Linked DNA regions of Homo sapiens: region 2 is linked to region 1. Evidence: promoter capture Hi-C in 16 types of primary human blood cells and fetal thymus (Javierre and others, 2016). All regions are on one chromosome and are shown on one strand. Each heading gives the region's core, a stretch centred on a gene start or on the middle of the fragment in contact. The rest is flanking DNA. Distances are from core to core; before and after follow the strand shown. Region 1 holds the start of NADK2 (NAD kinase 2, mitochondrial). Region 2 overlaps DNAJC21 (DnaJ heat shock protein family (Hsp40) member C21).

Evidence for each region. The method cuts DNA at HindIII sites, captures the fragments that hold promoters and counts their contacts. A CHiCAGO score of 5 or more calls a contact.
Region 2: a contact is called between a fragment that was not itself captured here and the fragment with the promoter of NADK2 in region 1, in 3 of 17 cell types (non-activated CD4 T cells, activated CD4 T cells and naive CD8 T cells). The highest score is 6.9, in non-activated CD4 T cells.

Annotation. Positions count from the first base shown.
Region 1 is chr5:36,239,147-36,243,747 of GRCh38, forward strand. It overlaps NADK2 (NAD kinase 2, mitochondrial), which reads right to left and starts at 2,779. Exons shown (of 12, transcript NM_001085411.3): 1 at 2,353-2,779. The coding sequence starts at 2,652. LOC124900962 (a long non-coding RNA gene) reads left to right here and starts at 2,756. Exons shown (of 3, transcript XR_007058733.1): 1 at 2,756-2,882. RefSeq lists enhancers at 1,684-1,753, 3,104-3,303 and a silencer at 1,844-2,863. The HindIII fragment of the contact is 2,649 bases long and covers 833-3,481 here.
Region 2 is chr5:34,935,186-34,939,786 of GRCh38, forward strand. DNAJC21 (DnaJ heat shock protein family (Hsp40) member C21) reads left to right here. Exons shown (of 12, transcript NM_001012339.3): 3 at 525-648; 4 at 959-1,081; 5 at 2,141-2,445; 6 at 3,673-3,824. Among named protein-coding and RNA genes, the nearest start is that of DNAJC21, 7.9 kb to the left of the region's middle. The HindIII fragment of the contact is 5,867 bases long and covers 1-4,601 here.

The DNA of each region.
Region 1 (4,601 bases), core at 1,529-4,028:
GGCCACTTTCTTTTATATCCATCCAATTCACATGATTCACATAACTTAGTATTTTCTACCCCAGCAATATAACAAATAATACTTATCATCTTATCACTCCTATTACAGAATCCCATTTTAGGACAGCTTCACACAGCCCAGTATTCTTTGGCCTGTTAATAATCTCTCATCTGGTCTACAACTAATGCTATTGCATTCTGAGTATGGGCCTTTATATAAACTATAACACAAATTCAAATCAGTAAGGAACTTATCCAATAAAACTGTAATGACAACACCACCAACAAAAACTATTCCACTGCCTGGCAATTACAAAACTGTGTATTCTACAGCCCACGAGTTTTACTTCAAAGCTGGCTTATCCCAAACAGCATTACCTAGCAATAGACAAATATTTACCTATTAGAGATTTCTCCACTCAGAACGGGTACACTTAGGTAGTTTGACTTTTTAAGACTTATTGATTTTCCCTACATTTTAAAAGTTTTTTTATTAAGTGGTAATCTAGTTCAGAGGTCCAAGAGTTAATCCTAACTGAGATGCCACCCATTTTCTTGAGGCCTTGAAAACGTTATCCACAGTTTCAAAATGCCAGTACTGTAAAGGGCCTTGGAGGCTATCTGGTACTACCTCTGCAATTCACATACTGAATTAGGTGAAGCACTTTGAAAACTGACACTACTATACAAAAAGTATCATTTCCACCTATGAGGCCCAGAGAAGAACACACATAGGAAGTTAACCACACAGAACCAGGGCCTAGAACTGAGCTCTTCACTCTTAATCCCACACTCTGAACATGCCAAGTGAGCTATTTTAAATTGTTGTGGGAAGCTTCGATAAAACTGTATGCACATATTTATGCATACATGGCATTTGACAAATCCTACAAGCTAGACTTTGCAAAATTAGTACAACCCAAAGGGCACACCACTTTCCCCAAATAGTAACACTGTGCTTTCTTAGAACATTACTAGTCCCTATCTCACCTCTAGTTTCACTCCCTAATACAAACTCAACTACTCTAACCTCCTGTTCAAACCCTTTATTCTTTAAATGATGCAAGTGTATTCTATAAACAGTCATTTTCAAACACTTAGGAAAAAGAAAACAAATCTACACATCTAGACTCCCATCAGGTGAATGCAGGAGCCCTCTTCAGTAAACCCAACAAAGAAGCAGGATGTTTAATGTTGACAACAGATTCAGCACTTAAGCAAAGATGATTTACAATTTCATTTTGATGCCTCTACAAAATAACTTCGCTAAGATCACACGATACCAGAAGTTTCCAACAGGTTGTCTAGTCTTGCACAGAATTAAACTAAATCAGTTATGTGCAATTAATTCCAAAACCTTTTGGTGCACAGTGCCAACAATTAAGAGATTTCCAATATATTTTTCTGGACATACTGCTCATGGTAGCACCGGGCACTCTCCTTTTCCTAAAGTTGGTGGATGGTGGTATGGGATCAGAAACTGTTTTTAAAGTTGGTGGGGGGGGATGACAACAGGAAGATTCAAACTCTGGTTTTTCCCTTGGATTTGTATCTTTGCAGATATATTAATAAACATATCAAATATGGTATATTGTGGAGATACTGCTGCACAAGAGTCGCAGGCTTTTTTATTTCACACACTACCCAGTATACCAGCCCCTTGTCCTGACATTTCTCCTTAATAACGTACATATACAAGTCAAATTTTCTCCCTTTTCCTTCTTAGCACCAAAGACCTGTGCTTTTAAAACAAGCTCGTAGTGTCCAACGACCACGTTCCAGCAAGGAAAAGGCTCACGCTGAAGGACTTTCCGGAGTGCCCTAGGCCTCGCAGTCCTGCAGAGTAAAAGGGGGTGTGTCCGCGGTTGTTTCGGCCCTTTTCCCCCGGCAGCCCTCAGCGGCGCCCTGGGCCCCCTTTCTCGCGGCGGCCAGGGGAGCTGTTCGCAGGGCGTCCAGACCTCAGGCCACTGGCTCACTTTCTTGGAGTGGGTCCCAACCAGGGAACGAGGGCGGGGGCGGCGAGGGCACCAACGAATCCTCAAACCCCTCACTCTGAGGCCACTCGGCAGCCCCTCTTCGCCCTCCCCGCGGCGCCCCTGCCTCCTAAGTCCCTGCATGAACCACTGTCCCTCTCTCTCCCCCTCTCCCCGGCCCTGCCTCTCCCTCGCACACACGCCCAAAGGCAAAGGAGGCCCAGGGAGAAGCCAGAGGACCTGGGGGCCGCGAGAGAGGCAGGACCGGCATCTGCGGTGCCCTGGGAAGAGTCGTCCCGAGAGGTCCCCCCGAGGGGGCGCAGCCGCCACCAGAGCCCCGGCCGAGCCCGGGAGCGAAGCGGGGCCGAGCCAGGACCCACCAGCTGCTTCAGGTCCTCCTCCGAGAGCTCCGCGTAACGGTACCGCTGCTGCTCGAACTCGTACCGGGTGGTTTTGGCCACCACCACCACCCGGGAGGGGCGGAAGCCGCCGTCCGCGCGGCTGCCACAGCCCGCCAGCTCGCGCGGCTGCCCCTGCCCCAGGTGCCGCCGGCCGCCACCGTCACCGCCCAGCCGGGGCCGCGCGGCGGGGCCTCCCGCACCCGGTCCCCGCAGCGCCGCCGCCCGGCCGCCCGCCACGCGACAACAGCTGCCCAGCAAGAAGCCTCGGTAGCAAGTCATCGTGGGCCGGGCCGCGGCCGCGGGCTTGGGCTCGGGCCCCTTGCCTCAGCTCCCTACCGCCGGGAGTGCGCGCCGTCCGCGCCGCCCGGGCCTCTAACTTCGCGCCGGACGGGCAGAGGTTAAGTGCCAGGACGTGCGTGGCCCACGCGGCTAGGGGGACGTACCCAGGCGTTGACGAAGGCGGGGAAAGCGTGGCGATTGGGAAACGGGAGACCCCACGCGGGAGAAAGGTGGGCGGGGAAGAAATGGAGGCCCCAGCTAGTGGGTTTTGTTTGTTTGTTTATTCGTTTCACTCACGCCTGCATAATGGCTGCTTCGCCGCCCGGGGGCGACCTCCCCGCACCACACGCTTCCCCGAGGTCGCTCTTCTCCCGCCCCCAGGCTAACTCTATCGGCCAATCAGAGCCCGCGGCGGCTCCGGATCCGAGGGGCCGCGCCATTGGCTGCGGCCTGAGAAAGAGGTAGAATTCTGTTAGGCGATTGCGTCGCCCTGAGGAATCCAGCTGGATCCGGTCTGAGGCGGCGCGGGGCCAGCGGGTGGGGTTTTGAGCGGCTGGCGGGAAGGCAGGTTCCTGGCATATGCTCGCTTGGGTTCTGTTCTGCAGGCCGACCACGTGCCCATTGGTTTATTTGACCAGGGTCGGTGTGATAGCTGGTGTGTCTGGGGCCGGGCTGGGGGCTGAGGAGGCGGACCCGGCTCCTGCTGCACCGTGTGCGTGGCTTGGCACGAAATCCTCTCGGCGTGGGACCCAGTGCCCGCCCCGCTGCCCCCTGCCCCCCCGAAGAGCCCTACCTATAGGACAAAGTCCAAATGAATTAGTTCTTTGAAAGCTTTTAACTGGAAAGGAGTGAGTTAAAGCAATGTTTGATGACTATTGATCTGGCTTTGGAATCTTGGGTAGCTTGGGAGGCAAGAAGAGGAGGAAGGGATGCTGTTGGGATAATGACCCGTGGAGTGATCAGGACCTGGGCTGGGGTGTGACGAGAACAGAAGGAAACGTCCCATTGTAAGGGGAGAACCACATGGCAGTGCACATCCTGCTGTTCAATTCCGCAGCTCCTTAGATCCCCTTCCCCTGGCACTGTGTTTGCTCCTTTGTAGTCCTGGCGCTACGTCGCTTCTGGACTTTGGGCAGGTTACCTCATCTTTCTGGGCCTCAGATTCCTCATCTGTAAAAAGGGGGTTAGGGTGACCCCAAGGTTCTACCAAGTCCAAATCGATTCAGTGAATCTATGACTCTCCTCACGGGCCCACCAGCACCAGCGTTCATTCGTGGGTTCCCGCGGTGTGCCTGCTGTGTGCCAGGTAGTGTATTGGACTGGGAGCATACACAATGAAGCCCGATAGGTGTTTACTTGGTAAAGTTCTACCACTGACCCGTTCTCACCAAGAACTTTCCCTCACAGCAGCTGCTAATAGTGACGTGTAGTGTAACAACCTTAATAACCTGAGCTTCTAGAGGTAACATCTATAACTATCCTCAGACTCCTTTGTAGTCTTACTATTTTAAACTTCATTAGCATTAGGAAGGAAAAAAAAAAGGGAGAAATCACAGATGACGCTTAGGTTTGAGGCCAGGGTGAACAGGGGAATGTTAATTGATCCATTCGATAGAGAAAAAAAAATGCGTAGGGAGAAACTGTTTGGGATCAAAGTCTGAGTTTTGTTGCTCATATTTGAAATCTCGGACCTCATTTCTTCCCATTTCACAGATAAAAACCCAGATTTTTGACTCTCATTTCAGCTGCAAACATATACATTGACATCTCAGTTGGAATAGCCCTTTGTCCATAGTTATTTTGCGTCTCATCTTCCACCTCCTCAAAAATAGTGTTTCTGAAGGCATCCTCTCACAGGTATCTTGAATTTTCCCTCCCAAATGAGTTTGCCTCTTCAGTATTTAAATATGCTCATGTCTATGACATCTTTAAAATTTTTCTAAAAAAAC
Region 2 (4,601 bases), core at 1,228-3,727, 1.3 Mb before region 1:
AATTATGTAATATCACTGAGCTTCCATTTCCTTTTATATCAGATGGAGATAATAACTGCCTTTACAGAGTTATTATGAGAAGCAATTGTGTGTGTGTGAAGCTCCTAGATTAAGTTGACATAAATTTAGGAAGATTCTTATTCCAGTGCATCTTGGTAAATTTCCAAATCACAGATGTGTAATGATTCTGTGGGCCAGATTTCCTATGTCCTGTTTTATGTTTCTTTCCTGTGGAAGTACGGGACTCAGAGACAGTCATGGAAATTCCTTGGCTTTTTAAATTCCCCTGTTCATGTGGGCTAGCATTGTATAATGTATCAGAAGTTGCAGGCCTAGTTATAATTAACAGTTCTGTGAAAGATTATGAACTCTTTTCATGTTAATATTTCATTAAAAATTTTTGGTTATGGATTGGACATATCAACAACCAAAAATGTACAATAATAATATTCAAAAGGAGCAAGAAATCCTTTTGAATTCTTACTTATTCAGCCTTCACAATGATGCTAATTTTTGTTTTTCAGGTATGATAATCATAGAGAGGCCCTACTTAAAGGTGGGTTTGATGGCGAATATCAAGATGACAGCTTAGATTTGCTACGCTATTTCACCGTTACCTGTTATTCTGGTTATGGAGATGATGAAAAGGTAAGATAAATGAACTCACCCTTGATTTCTCATCAAGTACTTCATTAAGACTCACATACAAAGAGAATTCTTAAAACTATTCTGTAATAGAAAGTGAAGCAGTGTTCATTTTGAAAACTGAAGATGCATTGCCTTCATGTTTAAGCTGTCAGTGTATAAAAACCTCTAGTTGAAATCTAAATGTATTGCAGGGACTGAACTTTGTCCCAAAATTCTTCAACATTAAAATTTTTCATTTTGTATTTTAAAATCTTTTTCTGTGATCAGGCTGCAAAAGTATTAAGAATTTGTTTTTGTTACTGTTTTTTAGGGATTTTACACGGTGTATCGTAATGTTTTTGAAATGATTGCCAAGGAAGAACTAGAATCTGTGTTAGAGGAAGAGGTTGATGATTTCCCAACTTTTGGAGACTCCCAGAGTGACTATGATACGGTAAAATAAAAATGCATTGTTCTATAATTAGTATTTATCACTGTGTCATTTTTAAATTTTATTTTACTTTTTGAGATGGTCTCACTCTGTCACCCAGGCTGCAGTGCAGTGGTATGATCATATCTCACAGCAGCCTCAAACTCCTGGGCTTAAGCAATCCTCCTACCTCAGCCTCCTGAGTAGCTGGGAACACAAGTGTGCGCCACGACATCTAGCTAATTTGTCAATTGTTTTGTAGAGATGGGGTCTTGCTAAGTTTCCCAGGCTGATCTTGAACTCCTGGCCTCCCTCCTTGGCCTCCCAAAAGATTGGGATTACAGGCATGAGCCACAGCTCCCAGCTTCTCATTTCCTTGTTTTAAAACAATTGGTTCTAGTTCTCGAACCTATCCCATGACCTCTCTTTGTCTCTCTTCCTTTCTGAAGTAGCTTTTCGATCTCTTGCAACCTTCCCCCTTTACTTTTCCCTTTTTATTTTTTATTTTATTTGTTTATTTTTTTTGAGATGGCATTTCACTTCTGTTGCTCAGGCTGGAGTGCATTGGCACCACCTCAGCTCACTGCAACCTCAGCCTCCCGGGTTCAAGCGATTCTCCTGCCTCAGCCTCCCAGGTAGCTGGGATTACAGGCTCCCACCACCATGCTCAGCTAATTTTTGTATTTTTAGTAGAGACAGGATTTCATCATGTTGGCCAGGCTGGTTTCAAACTCCTGACCTCAGGTGATCCACCCACCTCAGCCTTCCAAAGTGCTGGGATTACAGGCGTGAGCCACCATGCCTACTTTTCCCTTTTAATTTACTAATTGTTTACTGATTATTTACTAATCACCATGGTCCCATCTAGTGATTAGTAAGGCTATTTTTATTTTCTCATTAAGTTTATTTTGAAGAGTGATTTTTTCTGGAAAGCCTTAAAAGTACTGTCTTCTCCAGAGATTATTAGAAGTGTTATATACATGAAAAAAGAAAGGTAAAAGATGTTTCGCATCAGTAATATTTACTGCTTTTCTAAAAAAAAATCTTAAAGCGCAGAAGTTAATCTGTTTTCTTTGTCACTAGGTAGTCCATCCTTTCTACGCTTATTGGCAGAGTTTCTGCACTCAAAAGAATTTTGCATGGAAGGAAGAATATGATACACGACAGGCTTCAAACCGCTGGGAAAAACGAGCCATGGAAAAAGAAAACAAAAAGATTCGGGACAAAGCAAGGAAAGAGAAGAATGAGCTTGTCCGTCAGCTGGTAGCTTTCATTCGTAAAAGAGATAAAAGAGTGCAGGCGCATCGAAAACTTGTGGAAGAACAGAATGCAGAGAAGGCGAGGAAAGCCGAAGAGATGAGGCGGCAGCAGAAGCTAAAGCAGGCCAAGTGCGTAGCGTGCGTGGGGCCCTCTTCTCAGTATCGGTGGGGGTCAGAGGCAGCACCAGAGGTACCTTACATGTTCATGTTGGGTTCAGTCATCAGCCTGGCTTTATCCTGCTTTTTCTTCTTTTTTAAATTGTGGCATTGGATAGTGTTTTTTCATCTACTGTGTAAAAATTATTATTATTTTTGGGACAGTGTCATTCTGTCACCCAGGCTGGAGTGCAATGGTGCGATCTCGGCTCACTGCAACCTCCGCCTCCAGGTTCAAGTGATTCTCCTGTCTCAGCCTCCCAAGTAGCTGGGATTGCAGGTGTAATATGCCACCATGCCCAGCTAATTTTTGTATTTTTAGTAGTGACGAGGTTTCACCCTGTTGGCCAGTCTGGTCTCGTACTCTTGGCCTCAAGCGATCTGCCCGCCTCAGCCTCCCAAAGTGCTGGAATTACAGGTATGAGCCACAGTGCCTGGCCTAAAATTTTTATTTGAATTGGATATTTTCCTTCAGAGACCCTTTACATTTGAGAGATCCTTTAGACTTTTGTAAAACTTAATAATTTTAATTAATAACTAGCGTTAATTGAATTCTTCCTCTGTGCAAGGCCACGTTCTAAGTGCCTTCCTCACAGCAATGCTGTGAAGTACTTATCCTCCTTGTTCTTCTGAGGAAACAAGGCTGACAGGCCTGAGATCACAGAGCCAGTAAATGGTAGAGTCAGGAATTGAACCTGAGAATTCTGACTCCAGACTTTCCTGCTTTAGCCACCGTGCAGTACTGCCTTTTGGTCAGTGTACCCTGAGATACTCAGTTCATTTTAGTTCCTCTAAAGTTTTGTTATTAAAAAGTTACTGTAAATGCATTGTGTCCAGAGCATTATAGCATACTTTTAAAAATTATTCACTTCTTAAGAATTCTACTCATCCCACCCTCATCTTTTGAAAATTAACACTTTACCTACATGACTTAAAATCATCTGAAGACTTTTAATAAGTTGCTGAGTTTCATGTTTCAAAACCTGTTATCTACTACTGGAGCAATTAAAATTAACCATACAACAGGTAACAGGTTTAAGTGACTTTGCCTTGGTTTTAACTAAGCACAGGTTTTAAGTTTGTAAGCGTGGATAGGTTGGGAGCAAGCTCTCTAGTGGGAATGGATTTTAAACCTAAGTAGTAAGTGAAAACCATGCAGAGGCGTGCTTGTCGCTGTGAGACTGTGCTGTATGTGTCTAGACTGGTGGAGCAGTACAGAGAACAGAGCTGGATGACTATGGCCAATTTGGAGAAAGAGCTCCAGGAGATGGAGGCACGGTACGAGAAGGAGTTTGGAGATGGATCGGATGAAAATGAAATGGAAGAACATGAACTCAAAGATGAGGAGGATGGTAATATTATTTTTATTTTATTTATCTTTTTTGTTTTTTAAGTGAAGCTGGAAATCTCCTTGCTTATTTGACATCTCCCAATTTTTAAATGTGGCAAATAATTAAAAATAATGTTGTATGGGCCAAAGGTAGTCGGCTGAGCTAGTCTAATTCAAGTAATTTGATTAACAAATTCTTTTCTGACCATGTCCTAAACAGTGTGTACTTCTAGCTGCATAATATGACAAATGGACATGTTTACAAGTGTGACTATTTTTTTTTTTTTTTGAGACGGAGTCTCGCTCTGTCGCCCAGGCCGGACTGCGGACTGCAGTGGCGCAATCTCGGCTCACTGCAAGCTCCGCTTCCTGGGTTCACGCCATTCTCCTGCCTCAGCCTCCCGAGTAGCTGGGACTACAGGCGCCCGCCACCGCGCCCGGCTAATTTTTTGTATTTTTAGTAGAGACGGGGTTTCACCTTGTTAGCCAGGATGGTCTCGATCTCCTGACCTCGTGATCCACCCGCCTCGACCTCCCAAAGTGCTGGGATTACAGGCGTGAGCCACCGCGCCCGGCCAAGTGTGACTATTAAAGAAAATTCAACTAAGTGATAGGTCAAGTTTTAATAGTAACTATTTCTAGAAAAGCTGATATTGCATGAGAATCTATGTGTTGTGTATAAATTCTTCCTCTCCCTTGTGACTTTATAGAAGGGCTCCTCTTGGTGTGCCAAAATGTTGTTTTTTTTTTGCCGCTATCATTAGAGCACAGGTATTTGACTACCTTAAAAGGCAAGGAT